7 separate regions of the Homo sapiens genome follow, and regions 2, 3, 4, 5, 6 and 7 are each linked to region 1. Evidence: promoter capture Hi-C in 16 types of primary human blood cells and fetal thymus (Javierre and others, 2016). All regions are on one chromosome and are shown on one strand. The core of a region is centred on a gene start or on the middle of the fragment in contact, and the rest is flanking DNA. Distances in the headings are between cores, read along the strand shown.

Evidence for each region. Contacts are between HindIII fragments. The CHiCAGO score rates a contact against its expected background, and 5 or more counts as called.
Region 2: a contact is called between the fragment with the promoter of MRGBP here and the fragment with the promoter of LAMA5 in region 1, in 5 of 17 cell types (erythroblasts, naive B cells, M0 macrophages and 2 more). The highest score is 7.7, in erythroblasts.
Region 3: a contact is called between the fragment with the promoter of COL9A3 here and the fragment with the promoter of LAMA5 in region 1, in 1 of 17 cell types (M0 macrophages). The highest score is 5.9, in M0 macrophages.
Region 4: a fragment that was not itself captured here is called in contact with the fragment with the promoter of LAMA5 in region 1 in 1 of 17 cell types (M1 macrophages); the score reaches 5.0 in M1 macrophages.
Region 5: a contact is called between the fragment with the promoter of TAF4 here and the fragment with the promoter of LAMA5 in region 1, in 1 of 17 cell types (neutrophils). The highest score is 8.8, in neutrophils.
Region 6: a fragment that was not itself captured here is called in contact with the fragment with the promoter of LAMA5 in region 1 in 1 of 17 cell types (neutrophils); the score reaches 6.2 in neutrophils.
Region 7: a contact is called between a fragment that was not itself captured here and the fragment with the promoter of LAMA5 in region 1, in 1 of 17 cell types (neutrophils). The highest score is 5.1, in neutrophils.

What each region holds. Positions count from the first base shown.
Region 1 is chr20:62,365,941-62,368,768 of GRCh38, forward strand. LAMA5 (laminin subunit alpha 5) reads right to left here and starts at 1,372. Exons shown (of 80, transcript NM_005560.6): 1 at 1,009-1,372. The coding sequence starts at 1,305. RefSeq lists an enhancer at 177-876 and a silencer at 1,056-1,495. The HindIII fragment of the contact is 18,996 bases long and covers 1-2,828 here.
Region 2 is chr20:62,794,715-62,797,884 of GRCh38, forward strand. It overlaps MRGBP (MRG domain binding protein), which reads left to right and starts at 1,759. Exons shown (of 5, transcript NM_018270.6): 1 at 1,759-1,957; 2 at 2,396-2,517. The coding sequence starts at 1,810. RefSeq lists silencers at 1-64, 1,526-2,065 and an enhancer at 356-902. The HindIII fragment of the contact is 13,279 bases long and covers 1-3,170 here.
Region 3 is chr20:62,815,512-62,818,304 of GRCh38, forward strand. COL9A3 (collagen type IX alpha 3 chain) reads left to right here and starts at 1,539. Exons shown (of 32, transcript NM_001853.4): 1 at 1,539-1,631; 2 at 2,056-2,124. The coding sequence starts at 1,554. RefSeq lists enhancers at 1-405, 1,094-1,779, 2,468-2,793. The HindIII fragment of the contact is 2,563 bases long and covers 696-2,793 here.
Region 4 is chr20:62,712,170-62,714,993 of GRCh38, forward strand. All of the region lies in intron 1 of NTSR1 (neurotensin receptor 1), which reads left to right. Among named protein-coding and RNA genes, the nearest start is that of NTSR1, 4.7 kb to the left of the region's middle. The HindIII fragment of the contact is 5,011 bases long and covers 1-2,824 here.
Region 5 is chr20:62,064,469-62,067,414 of GRCh38, forward strand. TAF4 (TATA-box binding protein associated factor 4) reads right to left here and starts at 1,413. Exons shown (of 15, transcript NM_003185.4): 1 at 1-1,413. The coding sequence starts at 1,342. MIR3195 (microRNA 3195) reads left to right here and starts at 334; the gene lies at 334-417. LOC105372705 (a long non-coding RNA gene) reads left to right here and starts at 1,986. Exons shown (of 2, transcript XR_936960.3): 1 at 1,986-2,223; 2 at 2,474-2,946. RefSeq lists enhancers at 1-131, 132-645, 646-1,160, 2,189-2,702 and silencers at 1,094-1,183, 1,444-1,553, 1,814-2,193. The HindIII fragment of the contact is 9,555 bases long and covers 1-2,946 here.
Region 6 is chr20:62,037,019-62,039,820 of GRCh38, forward strand. All of the region lies in intron 1 of TAF4 (TATA-box binding protein associated factor 4), which reads right to left. It also overlaps the pseudogene RPL17P48. Among named protein-coding and RNA genes, the nearest start is that of MIR3195, 26 kb to the right of the region's middle. The HindIII fragment of the contact is 5,228 bases long and covers 1-2,802 here.
Region 7 is chr20:62,870,344-62,873,210 of GRCh38, forward strand. All of the region lies in intron 1 of LOC105372717 (a long non-coding RNA gene), which reads left to right. It also overlaps the pseudogene ARF4P2. Among named protein-coding and RNA genes, the nearest start is that of TCFL5, 10 kb to the left of the region's middle. The HindIII fragment of the contact is 6,367 bases long and covers 1-2,867 here.

The DNA.
Region 1 (2,828 bases), core at 122-2,621:
TTCATCCCCATAACGTCTTGCTCCAGGGCCCTCTGCCCCCACCCAGCAAATCTCCAGCTACTCGCCCCTGCCCCAGCCTCTCCTTCCGGGAAGGCAGAGGTACCAGGGAGGAGACAGCTCAGGTTACACAGGCCCTCAGGGCCCCTAGACTCTCCCTAAGGTGGGGCTGAGGTGGGGAATGGGCCTAGAGCGGCCGGTTGGGAGCCGTTGGAGCTGACTTTGCTGCTCCTCACCCAAGGCTGACCCCAGGCCCAACCTAAGTCTACAGGGCCCCAAGAGCCTTGGTTTTCAGGTGAGGTGTCCATGCATGGAGTCCACCAACAGAACCCGCCTACAGGTTTAAGGCTTGTTGGGGAGGGGACATGCACCCCAGGGGGTCTTCAGGGCCTGAACCCACATCTCCCAGGGAGACTGAAGCCCCCGGACCCTACCACCTGCTGGGCAGAGATGCTGCCCCTCCTGGGAGCCACGTGTTCCCAGCCCCAGTCAAAACTTCGCAGCTGGCCCTCCCCTACTTTGGAGGTCTCCTCGAGTCCCTAGACTCCTCCGAGAGGGGCTAGTGGGAGCCTCAGGTGGCTGGCCCCTCCCACCCCATCCAGAGGCCAACAGGTTCCAGCCTGTCCCGGGTAGGGCGGAGCTGCGCCCCCTCCCCACCGGCAGCAGGCGGCGGAGGCCAAGTCCCGCCCTCCCCGGGATCCCGGACTTGGGGCCGCCAGGGACTGGGCCCGGCCCCCCTCCCGCCCCGGTCACCGCAGTCGAACTGGACCGGCGCCCAGCCGCCCCCGGGTCCATGCCGGGGACTTTAATTCCGCCTTCCCGGAGGGACGCGAAGTTTCCCGGCCGAGACGGAGCGGCCGGGTCGGGGTGCCTTCTTGGGCCCCCAAAATGCGGAACCAGAGAGTCCGCACCTGGACTCGCCCCGGGCCACGGCGCTCCCCCTGGGGTCGGGCCGGTGTTCCGGGTCCGAGTGCCCCGGGAGGAAGCCCCACGGCCCGCCCCTGCGCTCACCCGGATGGTCTGGTTGGGGTCGCCGCCGGCCACGGGGCCCCCTACCAGCTTGCAGTAAAGGTCCTCGGTGGGGCGCGGGGAGCCGCGCGCCGGGGCCTCCTCTCCGCAGGTCGCGGAGGCGGCGATGCGGGCGCCCTCGGCCAGGTTGAAGTAGGGCGGGTGCAGGCTGAAGCCGCCGCCCGCCTCCTCCCGCGCCCGCGCCGCGCCCAGCAGCGCCAGCCCGACCAGCAGCAGCGGCGCGGGGCCCCGGGGGCCGCGAACACACAGTGCGCTCCCCGCGCAGAGCCGCTTCGCCATCTTCCCGGCTCCGGGCCGCGTCCCCGAGCTCCAGGGACAGCGCGCGCGGCGGGAGCCCGGCGGGTCTGAAGCCAGGCGGCCGGCAGGGCTCGCTCCGCCCGCGGACGTCAGGCCCCGCCCCGGCCCGCCCGAGCGCCCGAGCCCCGAGCCCCGGGGAGAGGTCCGGGGAGGCGGGGTGGGGGGGGGAAGGAGAGAGGAGGGGGAGGGGCGGCCGGGCGGCCTTAACCCTTCGGACCCCGGCCCGGCCGCCTCCCGGAAGGGGCACCTGCTGGCCTCGGGCCAGGCCGTGGGACGACGGCGCCGCCGGGCCCCCAGCCCAGGTCGTAGCTCCGGGTCCCGGGTGGGACCCTAGCGCTCCCCACGACGCCCTGGCCCCCAGAGCGCCCACCAGCTCCTCCCAGCCCAGGGGCCCACTCTTTGTTCCCCTAACTTGGGTGCACCACTCGGCTGCCCCCGCTCCTCCCCCAACAGCGTCCGTCCTGCTGGCTGCGGGAAGGTGCCCTCTGCACCCGCGAATGACCATCTGCAGAGGAACGGGGCAGCCTAGGTGGGAACCCCCTGCTTCCTGGGGCAGCCAGGTCAGGTTCAACTCGGCCTGGCTCCCGCCTGCCCCAGCAGGGCTTAAAAATACTCTCAGATAGGGAAATAGGGGCAGGAGGGACTGGCCTGCAGCTGCAGCCCCCTTTAGAGGACGGGGGCGGTGCTCATGGCCCCACAGCCGCCAAATTGGCTCTTAAGGAGGTCGGGGGCTCTGGTCACAGCTGCTGAGCACCTGCTGGGTGCCTGGAAGCACCTGTGCTCCGGGGCCCGGTGGACTCCACCAGCTCTCTCGGCCTGGCCTCCAACCCGCTGCACAGCCGCGCACGCGTTCCTGCCACGATCGGCGGCTCGAGGACGCCTGGCAAACAGCACAGGACCTAGAGGCCGAGATCAGGTCTTCGTCTGCCTTTGGGTGGCTGCGGCCCTGGGTCTCCTACTTCCCTTGGGCTCCGGGGCCAAATCTGCCTCCAGGGAAGCCCCGAGGGGGTGGCGGCGGGGTGGGGCTGCAGCTGCCGAGCTGGCAGCAAACCCCCATCCCTGAGCCAGGCCAGCTGGGCGGGCCATGGTCCCAGATGGGCTGTGGGGCTCATCTCTCGCTGGGTTCCCTGGACAGTCCCGGGGGGCTGGGTGGGTTTGTGGGGCACTGGCCAGCCGGTTCTGGTGGGGGTTCTGAGCTAGCAGCTGTCCCTGGAGGGTGCACCTCCTTGCACACCTTCCTGGCGCCCTGGCCTCCTGCAAATCTCAAATCCCAAGAGGGTGTATGGCCCTTTCTCTACGGAGTCGGGAGGGCGATGGGACCCTCTCTCCCTCCTCCTACTTTCCGGCCCGGCAATTCTTCCATAACTTCACTATTAGTTCTCCCACCTGGGGGAGGGGGGAGAGGAGGCGGCTCCCCTTGGCAGGAGAAGCTCCAAGTGGGGGAGGGGCTGGCTGGAGAGGGGGCGGAGACATCAAGGAATCTGCAGTCCAGGCGCAGAGTCCGG
Region 2 (3,170 bases), core at 509-3,008, 430 kb after region 1:
AGCCCTATGCCTGCAGTAATTGTGGGGTTTCTGGTTTTGTTTTTTCCTTAACATCTTTATTGAGACCGTTAAGTTCACCCGCTTAAAGCGCACGATTCGGTGGGGTTTTGTTGCGAGCAACCGTGGCCACTATCTAATTCCAGAGCATTTCACCTCCTTAAAATGAAGCTGGGCCCGGCCGGGCGCGGTGGCTCAAGCCTGTAATCCCAGCACTTTGAGAGGCCGAGGAGGAAGGATCACCTGAGGTCAAGAGTTCGAGACCAGCCTGGCCAACATAGTGAAACCGCGTCTCTACTAAAAATACAAAAATTAGCCGGCCGTGGTGAGCGCCTGTAGTCCCAGCTACCCGGGAGTCTGAGGCAGTAGAATCGCTTGAACCCAAGAGGCAGAGGTTGCAGTGAGGCGAGATCGTGCCATTGCACCCCAGCCCGGGCAACAGAGCGAGACTCTGCCTCAAAAACAAACAAAAAAGAAGCCGGTCCCCATCCGCAGTGACTCGCGTTTCCCTCCCCCTCCCCCGTCCCCGGCAACCGTGCATCTACTTTCTATTCCTATGGAGTTGCCAGTTCTGGCTCTTCCTGTGAATGGATTCCCATGCTGTGTATTTTCGTGTCTGAATTCTCTGACTTTCGTCTCAGCCCGCACCCACGCTGCCGCAGTCCGCGCTCGCTGCTTTTAGGCTGAACGCGGCTGCGCCGTGCGGGTGCCCGCGCTCCGGGCGCCCCTCGCAGGTTCAGCCCCGGGTTGGGGGCGGCGCTTGCCTCGCGGCTGCGGGTCCCAGCCTGAACCTGTGTCTTGTTCCACTGCCGCGGGCGCCCGCCACGGAGCTGCTGCTTCCTAGGGAGACGGTTCCATCGTTGAAGGAACGGCCAGACTGTCTTTCGCAGCAGCGGCCCATCTGACCGCACAGCACGACCGCACGAGGGTCCCGAGCCCTGACCCTCGCAGCACTCGTCACCCCGGCCGCGTGGTTGTGGCGGTCTCGGCGGGGCAGGGGGTCCCCACGCGGGCTGATTCTAGTTTCGCGTGACCGATGGTGCTCATTAGCCATATCTGTACATCTTTTTTTTTTTTTCGAGTCGGAGTTTCGCTCTTGTTGCCCAGGCTGGATTGCAATGGCGCGATCTCGGCTCACTGCCTCCCGGGTTCAAGCGATTCTCCTGCCTCAGCCTCCCGAGTAACTGGGATTACAGGCGCCCGCCACTACGCCCGGCTACTTTTTTTGTATTTTTAGTAGAGACGGGGTTATACGATGTTGGCCAGGCTTGTCTCGAACTCCTGACCTCAGGTGATCCGCCCGCCTCGGCCCCCCAAAGTGCTGGGATTACAGGCGTGAGCCACCGCGCCCGGCCCATCTGTACATCTTCTTTGGAAAAATGTGTATCCAAATCCTTAGCCGTTTTATAGTTAGATTGTCTTTTTATTATCGAGTTATAAGAATTATTTATACCTTCTACAAGGAAGTTCATTATCAGATATAGGATTTGCAAATATTTTCTCTCATCTGTGGGTCGTCTTTTCACTTTTCTGATGGTTTCCTTTGAAGCACAGACTTTTTTGTTTGGGTGCAGTGTATTTCTTACTGTGCTTTAAAGAGGAACACGTTTTAAGAACCCCCGCGCGGGGCGGAGCAGGGCGGAGTCCCCGGCGGGAAGGGACCCGAGACCTCGGCTGCGCCTGCGCCGACGCCGGCGCGTGAGCCCGAGCGCGTACCCGGCGGAGCGCGCGCCCGCCCCCGAGTGCGCCTGCGCGGAGCTCGTGGCCGCGCCTGCTCCCGCCGGGGGCTCCTTGCTCGGCCGGGCCGCGGCCATGGGAGAGGCCGAGGTGGGCGGCGGGGGCGCCGCAGGCGACAAGGGCCCGGGGGAGGCGGCCACCAGCCCGGCGGAGGAGACAGTGGTGTGGAGCCCCGAGGTGGAGGTGTGCCTCTTCCACGCCATGCTGGGCCACAAGCCCGTCGGTGAGCGCCCAGGCTGCGGACGCGCGTGGGGGCGGGGCGGGCAACCGGCGGGGCGGGGCGGGGCCTGCGCTCGCGACACCCTCGCCCCCACGCTCCCCGCCGAGCCCGGGCCGTGACACCGCCGCCACACCCGTCCCGGGACCCCCGCCCCCTCCCACGCGCCCTTCGGACCCCGCCCCGGACCCCGCCCACGACCCCTACCCCCGTGAGACCGCGAGGTCCCAGCCCGCAGTGCCCCACCCCCACCCCCGCCCCGGGACAGCCCACCCCCTCCCACACACACCACCCAGCCCTGCCCCCCCACAGCCCCTCCACACCCTGGCCCTCCCCATCTCTCCGCAGCCACCCTTGCCCCTCCAGTCCCCAGGGCAGCCCGTCCCCTCCATCCCCTTTCTCCTCACCGCTCACCGGTTATCCCGCCGCCCCTCCTCCCCTCAGGTGTGAACCGACACTTCCACATGATTTGTATTCGGGACAAGTTCAGCCAGAACATCGGGCGGCAGGTCCCATCCAAGGTCATCTGGGACCATCTGAGCACCATGTACGACATGCAGGCGCTGGTGAGCCCAACCGCCCTCCCTGTGCCGCCCGATGGGGGCACGAACCCGCACACCGCTCTCTGAGAGTCAGCCTGAGCTGGGCAGAGGCCCCTCCATGTCTGCTGGGGTCTGCTGGGCAGAGTAGAGGCCCCTCCATGCCTGCTGGGGTCTGCAGTGAGCTCTCAGGGTCAGCCTGAGCTGGGCAGAGGCCCCTCCGTGCCTGCTGGGGTCCCCTGGGCAGAGACCCCTGCAGTGAGGCTCGTCCTTAAGGAGGACATCCCGGGGCTCCAGAGCCTGTCATGGAAAGCACAAACACAGTGCTAGCAGCTGGCTAGCTTTTCAGGGGCTCTGCTTTAGACTGGGTGCTGGGCCAGAGTCTCCAGCTGAGACCCTGGGGAGGGAGGGAAGGATGCAGAGTCCCGGGCCCTTAGGCCATTGTCAGCCTCCTGGGAGGCCCCCGAAGTGCTTTAGGCAGAGGGTGACCCTATCTGAGTCACACCAAGGTGAATTTGGTGACTTCTGTGGGAGTCAGACAAGTAGAGTTCCAGTCCTCGCAGAGCTTGGAGCTGGCACTGTGTGACGGGCGAGCGGGTTAACTAGGTAAGCAGGGTGGCCAGAAGAGACAGGTGGGTGTTCCAGGCCCTGTGGCAGCAGGAGGTGGTGGGTCCAGGAGC
Region 3 (2,793 bases), core at 289-2,788, 450 kb after region 1:
AATCAAAAGTCCTCTGTTAGGAAGCTCTGTGCCAGGATGACTTGGACTCCTCAGGAGGGTGGGCCTTTTCAGCTCCTCCCACCTCGCCTGATGGAATTCGCACACACCCCTCCCAGCCCAGCCACCGCGCTCACCCAGCAGTGAAGGGAGAATCTCCCTCCACTCACTTCACCGCGGGAGAGATTAGAGCGACACTATTATTTTGAGACAGGGTCTCACTCTCTTGCCCAGGCAGGAGTGCAGTGGCGCCGTCTTGGCTCACTGCAGCCCCGACCTTACAGGCTCAAGCGATCCTCTTGCCTCAGCCTCCCGTGTAGCGTGGACTACAGGCGAGCACCACCATGCCCAGCCGATGTTTTAATTTTTGGTAGACATGAGGCCTCCCTCTGTCTCCAAGCTGGCCACGCCCGGCCGATGTTTCAATTTTTGGTAGAGATGAGGCCTCCCTCTGTCGCCAGGCTGACTGCGCCCGGCCAGAGTGCGGTGCTCCTGCTGAGCAGTTTTGCGCCCACTCCCCTCTCATCCCCTCCCGCCCTTGCTAACTCACAGCATTGCAACAGTCATGAGTCCCCACCTGCCGAAAGGAAGCTCCTGCAGCCCCCTACAACCCCCAGGGCAGCCTTTCTCGGGAATTTTCAAGATTCCTGGGGGAGGGGCTGGCATCTGCGCCTTCACTGAGCCTACAGGCAACTGGAAGCTTTGAGTCCCCTAGGGCAGCGACTGCCCTGGCAGCCTGAGGCAGAGCTTGGCCGGACCTGGCGACCCCTGAGCTTCTGGGAAATGGACATGGCCAGCACCGCCTTCAGGTTCCTGCCCAGGGCACGGTTCCTTCAGGCCGGGGATCCCGGGGAGGGGTTCTTCCCCTCGGCCAGGGTCATCGTTTTGCGATCTCTCCTGGGAGTCTGGGTTTGGAGTCTGGTCTTAGCCGGTAGCAACTGACGTGGCCTGACCACCCGGCCCGTCCAGGTCCACGGGTGAGGGGCCGCGGTGGGGGTGCTCCCAGCCCAGCAGGCAGCGCTGGACAGTGACCCCGGAGCGGGAACCAGGGCTGCGCTGGGCACTGACCGGGCCCTGGTACCGGGGATTCACCCTCCCCGGGGTGTTCCTGGGCCTTGGGTCGCCTGGGTCCGCTCCGGCGCCTGGGGAGGGGTCTGCGGCTTCGGAAACTCGCGGGTCTCCCCTGCCCCTCCCTGAAGGCGGCCCTTCAGCGCCGCGCGCTTCCGCCCCCACACTCGGGTTGAGGAGCAAGGAGAGAAAAGAGCGTCTTTCTCTCTTGCTCAAAGCTGCGTGTGTGCAACGCGCCAGTCCCAGGATAATTTTAACTCGCGGCCGGAGAGAACGCGCCGCCCGCCCGGCGTCTTTTTTGTTTTCGCCCAGGCGGGCTGGGCGGCGGCGCGGGGCGGGTGGAAGCCCCCCCGCCCAGGTGGGCCCGGCTGAATGGGGGGCTTGTGCAGGCGGGGGCGGGAAGGGGAAGGGGAAGGGGCCGCCCACCTCCCGCCCCGCCCGCCCGCGCGCCGCCCGCCCCGACGCCGCAGCTCAGACTCCGCTCAGCCATGGCCGGGCCGCGCGCGTGCGCCCCGCTCCTGCTCCTGCTCCTGCTCGGGGAGCTTCTGGCGGCCGCCGGGGCGCAGGTGAGCGCGAGCTCCGGGCTCTGAGGCTGGACGTGGAGCCGCGACCGCCCCAGCCCCGAACCCGCCACTCCGGGGTGCCCGGCGCAGCCTCGACGCCCCCAGCCCGTGTCGCCGTCGGGGCGCGGAGTCGCCAGCGCCTCGGGATGAGCCCCGTCCGGCCGCGTCCTCGATGGGTCCTCGCTGGCCCGGGTCGGCCGGCGCCGCCGCCTCCTCTGGGAGCACAAGGGGGCCTTTGTTCCCGCCGCCGGAGGGAGGCGGGGGACACACTGCGCGGGGGCGCCGGGCTCCGCCCGAGGCTTTGGGTCTCACCGAGGAGAGCGGCGGTCGTCGCAGGCCCCGGAGCCGCTCGGGACCCGGGAGGAGGGGACGCCGGGTCAGGCCCACGGGGGCACCTGCGCTCCTTAATGAGTTTTCTCCGTTTCAGAGAGTGGGACTCCCCGGCCCCCCCGGCCCCCCAGGGCCGCCCGGGAAGCCCGGCCAGGACGGCATTGACGTGAGTTTGGGGGTGGGGAGGGCCCCGAGCGCTCTGGGGTTCTGGCTCTGGCCCCCACCTCCCTGAGCTCCCCGGCCTGATGGAGAGAAAACCAGGCCCCACCTCCCAGAGCCGGGGTGACATCAGGGGACAGCCAGTGCCTTCACGGGATGGGGGTGGCCCTGCGGGGACTGCTGGTGGGTAGGGGTGGAGGGTGTCATGTGGTGGTCCTCCACCCAGAATGCCGGCACTGAGGTGTGTGTCTCTGGGTCCCCTGAGGGGCCCGTGCCCCTGTGTTCGGGGTTCTGGCCTCTGGCTGAAGTGGGGAGAGGCACGTCCTTTGGGTGGTTGGGGGCCGGGGGTCTTGTTGGAGGCTGCTGGGCTCTGGAGCCAGCCATGGAGGGGGCTTAGGAGCCGACTCAGTCCTGAGATGATGTCCCCTATGGGTATCTCAGGACTGGTGTGGGCCAAGCAGCAGGAGGAGGCGGCTGAAATTCTACAATTGTGCCTCCCTCGGAGGGACCGTCTGGGGTGAACCTCCCCATGTGACCACCACCAGGGCAGGAGTCCCCTCAGGGCCTGTCCACGCTGTGTGGTCCCCGTGGAGGGCTGTGGAGGGCTGCACCAAGAGCCCCCCATGACCCACCCTCTGCCCCCCTGCCCAGCTCGGCCTCAATGGCCACAGCCTCC
Region 4 (2,824 bases), core at 90-2,589, 350 kb after region 1:
CATTTGCCATTTTATGAAAGGTTTCCCCGGAATTAGGGGGTTTACGGTCCCCACGTGGGCTTCTGGGCCATTGGCAGATCTGGGCAAACATCCACGGTTTTCAGATGGTGATGTCTGGCTGAAGAGGGGCTGGATACCCTGAGCTAAGTGTCTCCCTCTCAGTGACCATGTTTGGAAGTGTTGGGGCAGTGGCCAATCAAATGGCCCCTCTTTCCAAAACAGGGGTCCTTTCCTGCCCCAGCGTCTCCTACGAAATTTTGGCCTGGGCACTTGCAAACAGAAATTGTGTTTAGAAATGAGGTGGTTCAGTGATAACACTTTGGAGCAACTTACAATAATCCTCCCTGAAGCCAGCTGGGCATTTTCCTAGTGTGTAGCTGGGACTGGGAGTTGATGGTGGAGTGGGCAGGGCTCTCAGGTCAGCAGACAGGACCTGGTGCCCAGGACCCTCCCAAAGGCCCCAGACCTGGCCCTGGTGCCAGCAGGGTGACTGGGAGGAGGAGCTGGGGGCTCAGGGACCTACGGGTGCCCCTGGGTTCCCCTGGACTGTCCTACCCATCCTCTAACCCACCCGCACACGTGGCCCCACACGGGCAGATGGCCCTTGCTTCTTGGATGGTCCCCCATGGCCCAGGCCCAACCTCCAGCTCAGCTTTGACCTCGGCTGTGACAGGGTCCCAGTGGCACACGATCTGTGTGGCAGGGCTCAGGGCTGATGGCCCAGATGGTGGGTCATCAGAGTCCCATGCTTATCTGTCATCTGTCCATGGCGTGTATACTGAACGTGTGCACACATGTGTGTGTCCAGGGGCCCACAGTGGCAGGGGCCTGGGACTTCAGGTGTCCGATTCAAATCAGATGAGGTGGCTGCAGCCTTTGAAACAGTTTTAGAGACCCGCCCCTGACTATGGCCACACACGAAAGCAAACCCTCCCAGCCTCACAGGCACGAGTCCATTAGACCCTCCTGAGCAGCCGTGAGGACTCCTTTCATCATTGCCATTTTCTGCACCAAGGGAGTCCTGCTCCTGCAGGCTCAGCCTCCCTGCCTCCTCCTTGTTTTTTCTGAAAGCCTTCTTCATATTGAGTACAAACAGCAGTGCTCTTCGCTGGGTTAGACCCCAACTCAGAGGGCACCTGCTCCCTCCCAGGGGCAGACAGGGGCCTCAATTTGTGCAGGAGGCGCTGGTGTCCTACAACCCCTGCTCCAGAGGCGTCCAGGAGCAGACAGATCACAGGGCGACTTGGCAAACACCCCAGCCGTTCAGGGCTGGCAGAATTCCGGGAAAGGAGAGGCGGCTGAGACAGGGAAGGAGACAGGTTCCAGTGAAATCTGGCCATGGATTATTTCAGGGCTCCTGTCCCGTGCCCCAGGCTGTGCCCAGCAACCTCCACAGGCAGCATCCTTGTTCTTAGGAAGGATACAGAGGTGTTTAGAGTGTGGAGTCTGCAACTTATTCTCAAATCATTCAGAAAGAAAGGTGTGGCCAAATGGAAGGAGAGCAAGCAGACAGTGAATCAAGGGAGGAGACTGCTTGCGGGTCATGCGGCATTGGGCTGCAGCCCTGCCACAGGCAGCTGAGTGTCCTGGGCATTCTTCCTGCAACTGTTCTGCAGTAGGAACTTTTTCAAGTTAGAAAGTTGCAGAAGGCCGGGCGTGGTGGCTCACACCTGTAATCCCAGCACTTTGGGAGGCTGAGGCAGGCGGATCACCTGAGGTCAGGAGTTCAAGCCCAGCCTGGCCAACATGGCGAAAACCCATCTCTACTAAAAATACAAAAATTAGCTGGGCGTCGTGAAGGATGCCTGTAATCCCAGCTACTTGGGAGGCTGAGGCAGGAGAATCGCTTGAGCTTGGGAGGCGGAGGTTGCAGTGAGCCAAGATCACACCACTGCACTCCAGCCTGGGTGACAACTGTCTCAAAGAAAAAAAAAGTTGCAGAAGAAGTTCTTCAAGGGGTCCTTAGGAACAGCCTGCTCCACTCTGACCTCCCGTGAGGACGGGAAGGGGACCCACGCCACGCAGCTGTGGGCAGCTCTGGCTCTGGCCGTAGCGGCCACAGTGTCCTCACCTGCAGCGCAGGGCATAGAGGGCTGTTGGTGTGGGGCCAAGAGTCACACACTTCCTCCAGTCTGAGCCCATGACCCTTTAGAGGAAAGGAATGGAGTATTTTTCCTGCCTTTTCTATTCAAACGGTACTTTAGAATAACCCAAGAGTAGATAAAAGGCAGTGTCTCAGCCCAGAAATGTTCATCAATAAGTGAAGAAGGAGCAGGATGGTCAGAATACCACCCATCAGGTGCAATCCTCATAAATCAATGGATGTAGGCATGGATTCTTGACAGCTGCTGGGGTCACGAAGGGGAGAGAGTTAGGTGTGAGGTGAGCCCTGGTGTGCACACAGCCTCGTGGCATCCTTGGAGCAAAGCCATTGAATCTGAATCTCATGGAGCCCCTGATCCAACACACAGGACACACCAGGGACAGAGGAACAGGGACAAATGTACCATTAGGATGCAGCCAGCAAAACCCAGACCACAAGAAACAGCTCCAAATAAACAACTCGTTCTGTTCTACAAACAGTGAGGGAATCGGAGACGGTGGCCTGGTTTCTTAGCAAAGACTCGGACAAGTCAACCTGTCGCAGAAAGCCGGCACCAAAGCTGATCATTCTTCCTGCCAAGAAACAGCAAAAAAGCCTAGGTAGTGAATAGCTACAAATTCTTGTTGTCCAGAGCTGTTGTGGGTATGGTTTTCAAAATGGTCCTGCTCTCTTAGAGGTACATGCGGAAATGTTTACAGACAAAATGATGCAATGTCTCAG
Region 5 (2,946 bases), core at 163-2,662, 300 kb before region 1:
TCTGGATGTTGGTCGGGTTCTGAGGCGGCTGCGGCAAGCGGGGGGCCAGCACGGTGGGCGTCAGGGTGGCCCGAATCCCGCTGGTGGTGGCCGTGGGCGTCCGGGACAGGCTCTGGGTCACTGCGCCGGCCGCGCCTTTGGGCAGCCCGGTGGGGGTCCCGGGGGCGGGCGGCGGGACGGCGGCCGGGCTGGGCAGCGCCCCTTGCATAGTTGGCCCGATGACCATGCTGGCCGCCGTGCTGGCCGGGCCGCTGGCCGCCAGGGTCTGCGCCGCCGGGGGCGCCGCCTGCACCACCCTCTTGGGCGACTCGGCCTTGACCCCCGGCGCCGGCGCCGCAGCCGCCGCGCCGGGCCCGGGTTGGCCGCTGACCCCCGCGGGGCCCCCGGCGGCCGGGGCGGGGGCGGGGGCTGCCCCGGCGCTGCCCCCGTTCTGGGCGGCGGCGGGGGGCGGCACGGCGGGCGCGGCGGTCGGGGGTCCGGCGGGGTGGCCGGGCGGCCGGGCCAGAGTGGCGGGCGCGGGGGGTGGCGGGGGCGGGGCGGCGGCGGGGGCGGCGGGCGCGGGGGCGGCGGGGGGCGAGGGCGCGGCGGGCGCGGGGGGCGCGGCGGCGCCCACGAAGGGGGGCGTCTGGATGACAGTGCCGGGGGCGGCGGGCTTGGGCAGCGGCAGCAGCGCGGCGGGCCCGTTGTTGACCAGGCTGACAGCAGGTGCGGCGGCGTGGTGCGAGTTCAGCAGCGCGGCGCTCCCATTCAAAGTTTGCGCGGCGCCGGGGCCGGCGGGCTTGCCAGGGCCAGGGCCGGGGCCGGGGCCGGGGCCGGGCCCGGGGCCGGGGCCGGCGCGGGCGGCCAGCGCGGCGGGGCCGGCGGGCTTGGCGGGGCCGGCGGGGGCGGGCTCGGGCCCCGCGGCGACGGCGGCGGCGGCGGGCACCGGGGCGCAGGACCCCGCGCTGCCCTCGGGCGGCGGCCTCAGCTTCGCGGCGGGCGGCGCGGGCCCTGCGGGGACAAGGGGGCGGCGCGGTGAGGGGGGGCCCGGGCGCTGCGGCCCCCCGCCCCCCGGCCGCGCTCTACCTGCGGGGGGCGGCTCCGGCGCCGCTCCGGGCGCGCCCTCGGCGGGGGCGGCCGGCCCTGCGCCCGCGGCTCCGGCCGGGCTGCCGCTCACAACATGGTTCCCGAGCGCGCCGGCGGCCGCGGCCCGCACCTCGGGCGTGCGCGGCGCGAGGTGGTGGTGGTGGGCCGCGCTGGCCGCCAGCTGCGACTCCAGCGAGCCCACCAGGTCGCTCACCACTTTCTCGTCCACCTCGCTGTTGAAGAAGACCTCGTCCAGCAGATCCGAGCCCGCCGCCATCTTTTTTCCTCGGCCGCCGCCGCCGCCGCCGCTCGGGCCGAGCGCGCCTGGGCGAGGAGGAGGTTCCGACTGGGGCGGGCGCTGGGCGGGCGGGGGGCGGCGCGCGGCCGGCGGGGGGCGGGGGCGCGCGGCCGGGGGGCGGGGGAGCGGGGGTGGCGGCCCTGCGCAGGCGCGGAGACCGCGGGCGCCCGGCGATTGGCTGCGGCGCGCGCTTAAAAGGCGCGGCCAATGGCTGCGAGCGCTAGAGGCCGGGGCGCGGGCGGTCGGCCGGGGTGCGGCAGCAGCGGCGGGAAGCGCGGGGGCTGGAGCTCAGGGGCGCGGGCGCCGGGGCGGTGGCGGACGGGGAGGGGGCCGCCGGGCGGGGCGCGGGATGCGGGAACGGTGCGCTGGGCCGGGCCGAGGCGGGCGCGGGGCGGCGACGGGGCCTCGCTCTTTGTCTCGGCTCGCTCCAAAATGGCTGCGGCGGCGCTGACGGGAGCGCCGGGCGGGCGCCGTGCGCGGTGGCAGCGGCGGCGCAGGGCCCGTCCGAGGCCCGGGGAACAGCGCGCGGGGATGCCGGGGCGCCGCCGGGCGGCGCGCAGGCCCTGGAGTGGATGGGCCTGGGAGGCGGGCGGGAACGGGGAGGGGACTGTCGCAGCGCGCCCTGGGGACGGGGACCGGCGCCCGGCCCCTCCAAGCCGCCGCGGGGAAGCTGGGTCCGCCTCTGGCTCAGCCGGTCCCGGGCGGTGGGGAGGGGTCCTGCGCGCACGGCTCTTCTCGCCCTCCAATCGTGACCACCCCTGGCCCTTCCCTCCATTTTTAATCAATAAACCCAGCCGCCCCGGGCTGACTGTCCCCGCACCCAGCTGCCTTGGAGACAGGAGTGTCGTATAAGCCCGTAGGTAAGAGCACGGTGCTTGCCAGGCGCCAAACGAAGTTCCCGAGCCTGAAGCCGGCACGTCTGGAAGTAGCTTTTTTTACCTTCTGCTGGGGGAGGGGAGTAAGTTACCTAAAGTGTTCCCAAGCACCTTCTCTCTAGAAATACTTCAGTAAAAGTTCCAGTCCCCTCTTTCTGCGTGTTTTATTTTCCAACCAAAAGATGGTGTTATTGGACATTTCTAGTGGTTTTCCTTTCTCTCATTTCTTCCTAAGAGCCCAGAATAGGTTTCAGAGAGACGCTTCCTTGCCTCGGACCTCACTGGGGCCAAGAGGCCACAGGGTCAGTCTTCGCAGCTGAAGACAGCGCCGCAATAAGCAGAGACCTCGGGACGATGAATGACGTTGCTGACAAAGAAAATGATTTTTTTAATTGCTTTAACAAAGGAGACTGCTAGTCTCGAAAGCAGACCCGAACTGGACCCTTGTGCCTGTTCGAACTGTAGCCTTGCAAAGGAATGGACTTACTGATAACTGGAATACGGGACTTCACCCCAGGCTTGTTTCTCGACAGCAGCAGCAGCCAATGAGCATTGAGGACGGAGCCTAGGAGAGGTGCCTCCCCTATAGGGGAACAGTGTTTGGGGGAAATCACTGCAAACGTACAGCTGGAGTTTTGTACCTGAACTTTGGCTCCCAGAAGGCAGGAAAGGAAATGAATGAAGCAAGCTGAGTATGGCGGGGAGGGC
Region 6 (2,802 bases), core at 22-2,521, 330 kb before region 1:
GGACTGTGAGAAATGAATTTCCGGTGTCTAGAAGCCTCCCAGTCTATGGTATTTTGTTACAGCAGCCAGAATGGCCTATGACAGAAGGGGATTCCTCAACCTAACACAGGGCCTCTATGAAAAACCTGCAGCTGACATCATGTGCGTCATGAGAGAAGACAGACTGCCTCCCCCAAGATCAGAAACAAGGCAAAATGTCCCTTCTCAACGCTTCTGTTTGTCATATTACACTGGAGGTTGTGGCCAGTGCAATGAGACAAGAACAAGAAATAAAAGGTGCACAGACCAGAAAAAAAGACATGAACCACTCTTTACTGCAGATCACGCCTATCTTTGAAGAAAATCCTAAGAAATCCACAGGATATAAAGTCAATTTTTTTTATTTTAATTGCATTTATTGTATGCTGAGTTTATTCCCATGCCACAAGTTTTTGTTTCTTCAGTTTCTTCTGGTACAGTTTTCCTCTGTGCAACTTCCTCACCTGGCTTGGGAACAAGTGTCTTTACCGTGAGGATCGTCTCAATGTGACGGGGCGCCCTGTATGGATGAACCCGACCACCAGCCCTGGAAGTCCCACAGCGCATCCTGGGTGCTCAAACACCAGAGAGCCTACATCTACACCCTCACATTCAGTGTGACTCTCCACATTTTTAATTGTGTGCAGCAAAAATTCAGCGCTCTTTTCGGGTCACCAACCCTGTGTCCAGCCCCACTGTTTGGCCTAGGTACACCTGCCAGCTCCACCCCTGCCAAGTCGGAATGGCATACACTGTTTCTATAAAGGGACGTCTTTCAGACACTTGGTGACTTCTCACGTATGCATACCCTTGATGGCCTGGGCAGTTTCACGAGCGTTCTTAAAGTGATCAAGAAGACCTGAACCTCTGGATTTGCACGATTTTGTGGGGATTTCTGGGTCAAGTGACTAATGAACCATTTTCACAGATCATCTCAGGCCGCTTGGGGAAGAGCTATAAAGTCACTATTTTTAAAAGCAATTTTTTTGTTGTTTTTTTTTTGGTTTTTTGAGACGGAGTCTCACTCTGTCGCCCAGGCTGGAGTGCAGTGGCGCGATCTCGGCTCACAGCAAGCTCCGCCTCCCAGGTTCATGCCATTCTCCTGCCTCAGCCTCCAGGTGGCTGGGACTACAGGAGCCCACCACTACGCCCGGCTAATTTTTTGTATTTTTACTAGAGACAGGGTTTCACAGTGTTAGCCAGGATGGTGTCGATCTCCTGACCTCGTGATCCACCAGCTTCGGCCTCCCAAAGTGCTGGGACTACAGGCGTGTGCCACCATGCCCAGCTAATTTTTTGTATTTTTAGTAGAGACAGGGTTTCACAGTGTTAGCCAGGATGGTCTCAATCTCCTGACCTCATGATCCGCCCGCCTCAGCCTCCCAAAGTGCTAGGATTACAGGTATGAGCCACTGAGCCACCGAGCCACTGACCCACCGCGCCCGGCCAAAAGCAATTGTTTTTCTAAATACTGGCAACAATTGGAAACAAAATTTTTTAAAGGACCACGTACATGGCATAAAATATGAATACTTAAGAATAAATTTAACAAAGTATGTTCAGGATACAAACACTGAGAACTTGAAACAACCCTGAGAAAAATCCTGAAAGGCCTAAATCAATGAAGAGGTACAACACGTTCGTGAATCAGAACACTCGATATTGCTAAGATATCAATGATCATAAAACCGATCTATAGACTCAATACAATCCCAAGCAAGATATCAAGGTATTGGCCAGGCCCAGTGGCTCACACCTGTAATCCCAGCACTTTGAGAGGCTGAGGCAGGCGGATCACCTGAGGTCAGGAATTCAAGACCAGCCTGGCCAACACGGCAAAACCCTATCTCTACTAAAAATACAAAAATTAGCCGGGTGTGGTGGCACGTGCCTGTAATCCCAGCTACTCGGGAGGCTGAGGCAGGAGACTCACTTGAACCCGGGAGTCGGAGCTTGCAGTGAGCCAAGATCGTGCCACTGCACTCCAGGAAAAGATGTGAAAGAGTGAAAAATTCCGTCTCAAAACAAACAAAAAGCTATCAAGGTATCAAGAGGCTTTTTTTGTAGAAGTTGACGAACTGATTCTGAAACACATGAATGCAAACGACCAGAACAGCCCTCAACGTTTTCGAAAAAGCAGCACTGGAGGACTCCTGCCACCCATCAACACTCCCTCTAAATGGGCTGGAAAGTGCTGAGCTGCAGAAGGGAAGACAAGGACATGAGTGGACAGAACACATCCCAGAAGTGACGTCCTCACACGTGGCCGACTGAGTTTCAATAAAGGCAGCAGCATCGTTCAATAGAGAAAGGAAGGTCTCCTCAACACATAAGGCTGGCATGATTGGTAACCACAGAAAAAATGAGTCTCAACCCCCTACCTTACAACTCTCCCAAAATTAACTTGAATTGGGTTGAGTAAGAGCTAAAGCCATAAGCATTCTAGAAAACTCCTGTACCTTGGGTTAGGCAAAAATTTATTTAAGAAGGCACAAGATGAATTCTTAAAATGACTCACTGGATTTATTTAAGAAGGCACAGGACGAATTCTTAAAATGATACACTGGATTTATTTAAGAAGGCACAAAATGAATTCTTAAAATGATACATTGGGCTTCCTTAAAATTGAAAACTTGCACTTTAAAACGCATGCAGCTAAAAGAAAAGGCAAACACAGACCAAGAAAATAGTTACAGAACAATTCTATCTGATAAATTACTTACATCTAGAAAATACATTTTAAACTCTTACTAAATCAATAATGACAAAACTAACAACCCAATT
Region 7 (2,867 bases), core at 138-2,637, 500 kb after region 1:
CCGTCATGACCTAGTCACCTCCTAAAGGCCCCTCTTCTTATTTTTTATTTATTTATTTTTTTGAGATGGAGTCTCGATTTATTGCCCAGGCTGGGGTGCAATGGCATGATCTCGGTTCACTGCAACGTCTGCCTCCCGGGTTCAAGCAATTCTTCTGCCTCAGCCTCCTGAGTAGCTGGGATTACAGGCACGTGCCACCACGCCTGGCTAATAGTTTTGTATTTTCAGTAGAGACAGGGTTTCACCATGTTGGTCAGGCTGGTCTTGAACTCCTGACCTCAGGTGACCCGCCCGCCTCGGCCTCCCAAAGTGCTGGGATTACAGGCGTGAGCCACCGCACCCGGCCATTGTTTTAAAGACCCCTCTTCTTAATGCCACCACAGTGCAGATTAGGTTTCAGTATGAATCTTGGAGGGATACAAACTCAGACCGCAGCAAGCAGGGTTTTTTTTCTTTCTTTCTCTCTCAAATTCTTGGAAGGTTGAGCAGGGCAGGGTCACCAGGCCTGCCGGCAACTGCTCCCCTTCCTCTCATCCTCCTGTAGCTTCTTGGACTCCTGGGCCAATTGATTTTTCTGTTCCGTGATGTGGAGTGATCAAAGCTGGTTCTGGGTTTTCTGGAGCTGGATCTTTGATTGCCTTTGATTTAAAAGCATTGGTAACCGTTTCTCACGGGAAAGAGGCGCTGATAATTCATGCAAATGAGCATCAATGGGCAAAATTCAACCAAGTGCCTCTGGAACCAAGGCTGCCATTGAACATTCTAGTAAAAATGGGGTGGAGGCTTTTGCCCAAGTGCTCTGGATAATCTGGGAAAAGAAAATGGTGAGTCAGTGCTTTATTTTATTTATTTATTTATTTATTTATTTGTTTGTTTTTGAGGCGGAGTCTTGCTCTGTCACCCAGGCTGGAGTGCAGTGGTGCGATCTCGGCTCACTGCCACCTCTGCCTCCTGGGTTCAAACGATTCTCCTACCTCAGCCACCCAAGCAGCTGGGATTACAGGCACATGCCACGATGCCTGGCTATTTTTTGTATTTTTCTGGTAGAGACAGGGTTTCACCATGTTGGCCAGGCTGGTCTCGAGCTCCTGACCTCAAGTGATCTGCCTGCCTCGGCCTCCCAAAGTGCTGGGATTACAGGTGTGAATCACCGTGCCCAGCCGAATTTTTTTTTTCTTTTTTTTTCTTTTTAGATGGAGTCTCTGTCACCCAGGCTGGAGTACGGTGGCACGATGTTGGTTCACTGCAACGTCCGCCTCCTGGGTTCAAGCGATTCTTCTGCCTCAGCCTCCCGAGTAGCTGGGATTACAGGCACGTGCCACCATGCCCAGCTAATTTTTTTAGTAGAGACGGGGTTTGGGGTTTCACCATGTGAGCCAGGATGGTCTCGATCTCCTGACCTCATGATCCCCCCGCCTCGGCCTCCCAAAATGCTGGGATTACAGGCATGAGCCACCGTGCACGGCCTTTTTTTTTTTTTTTTTTTAAATAGAGGCAAGGTTCACCATGTTGCCCAGCCTTGTCTCCAACAAGCTCAAGGGATTCACCTCCTCACAGACAGTGCTCCCACAGGCGTGAGCCACCACGCCCCACCTTATTTATTTTTATGTATCTTAACTTCCAAGGTGGATTTATTTAAAGGTTTTACAATAACTATGTCCAGGCTTTAGGCTCATGGGAAGTAAATGAGGACACCTTTTTCCCAAGAAGAATTTCTTTAAAACCAAGCACATTGCTAAATAACAACATTATATTTGGCAAACAATAATTGGCAACAAAATAAGTTTATTATTCTGCCCAAGCCAGTCCCAGATGCTGTTTCTTAACCAAGATACAAACAAATTTTGCTGTAGCAAGTCTAGACCAATTTTATCAAACATGTCTTTGGTTAGATGTCTAGTTTCATTTAACGTTTTGAAAACTCATTTGACAGCCAGTCAAGTCCCTCATCTACACCAGCTCCGTGTTGCACAAGTGGCTTGAACATACCATGTCCTGTTAGGAAGAGACTGAAGAGCTGGCTGGCTCATCTGTCGTCACACTGATGGCCCGAGCGCTGGGCAAACCCTGTTTGTTTGCAGAGAGCAGTGGCGCTGCGTCTCCACACTCACCGGCCAGAAGCCTTTTCTGCAGCGCGTCCGCCACTTCCCGAATTCTTTCATGATCGTTGCTATCTACCAGCAAAAGAAAACCCTGGGTATTCTGGAAGTAATGCTTCCAGAGAAGCCTAATTACATCTTGACCATGAACATCCCACACCATGAAACAAGTGTTCTCTTTTTGAGTCAGAGTCTCGCTCTGTCATCCAGGCTGGAGTGCAATGGCGCAATCTCAGCTCACTACAACTTCCACCTCCCGGGTTCAAGCAATTCTCCTGCCTCGGCCTCCCGAGTAGCTGGGATTACAGGAGCCCACCACTATGCCTGGCTAATTTTTGTATATTTAGTAGAGACAGGGTTCCACCATATTGGCCAGGCTGGTCTTGAACTCCTGACCTTGTGATCTGCCTGCCTCGGCCTCCCAAAGTGCTGGGATTATAGGCATGAGCTACCGTGCCTGGCCCAAAACAAGTGTTCTTATATTCTACTCTTTCCATGTTAAAACCAATGGCAGGAACTGTGGTGAGTACCTCCCCTAACTTCAGTTTATACACAATGTATAGGCAGCATCCAATCGAACCGTCCAAATGTGCATCTGCTTCTTGCTGAAGAGGCGGGAGAAGAGAGAGGAGATGGCGGGGACCATGGGTTCGTGGCACTTGTGATGGGCAGAAGCAGAGGGGCTTGGGGGGCCCTGTGCTTTCTTCTTTCATGCTTCCAGGCAAATTGAACAAGGGGGAAGAGAAAGAACTGAGGAAGAAAGAGGGA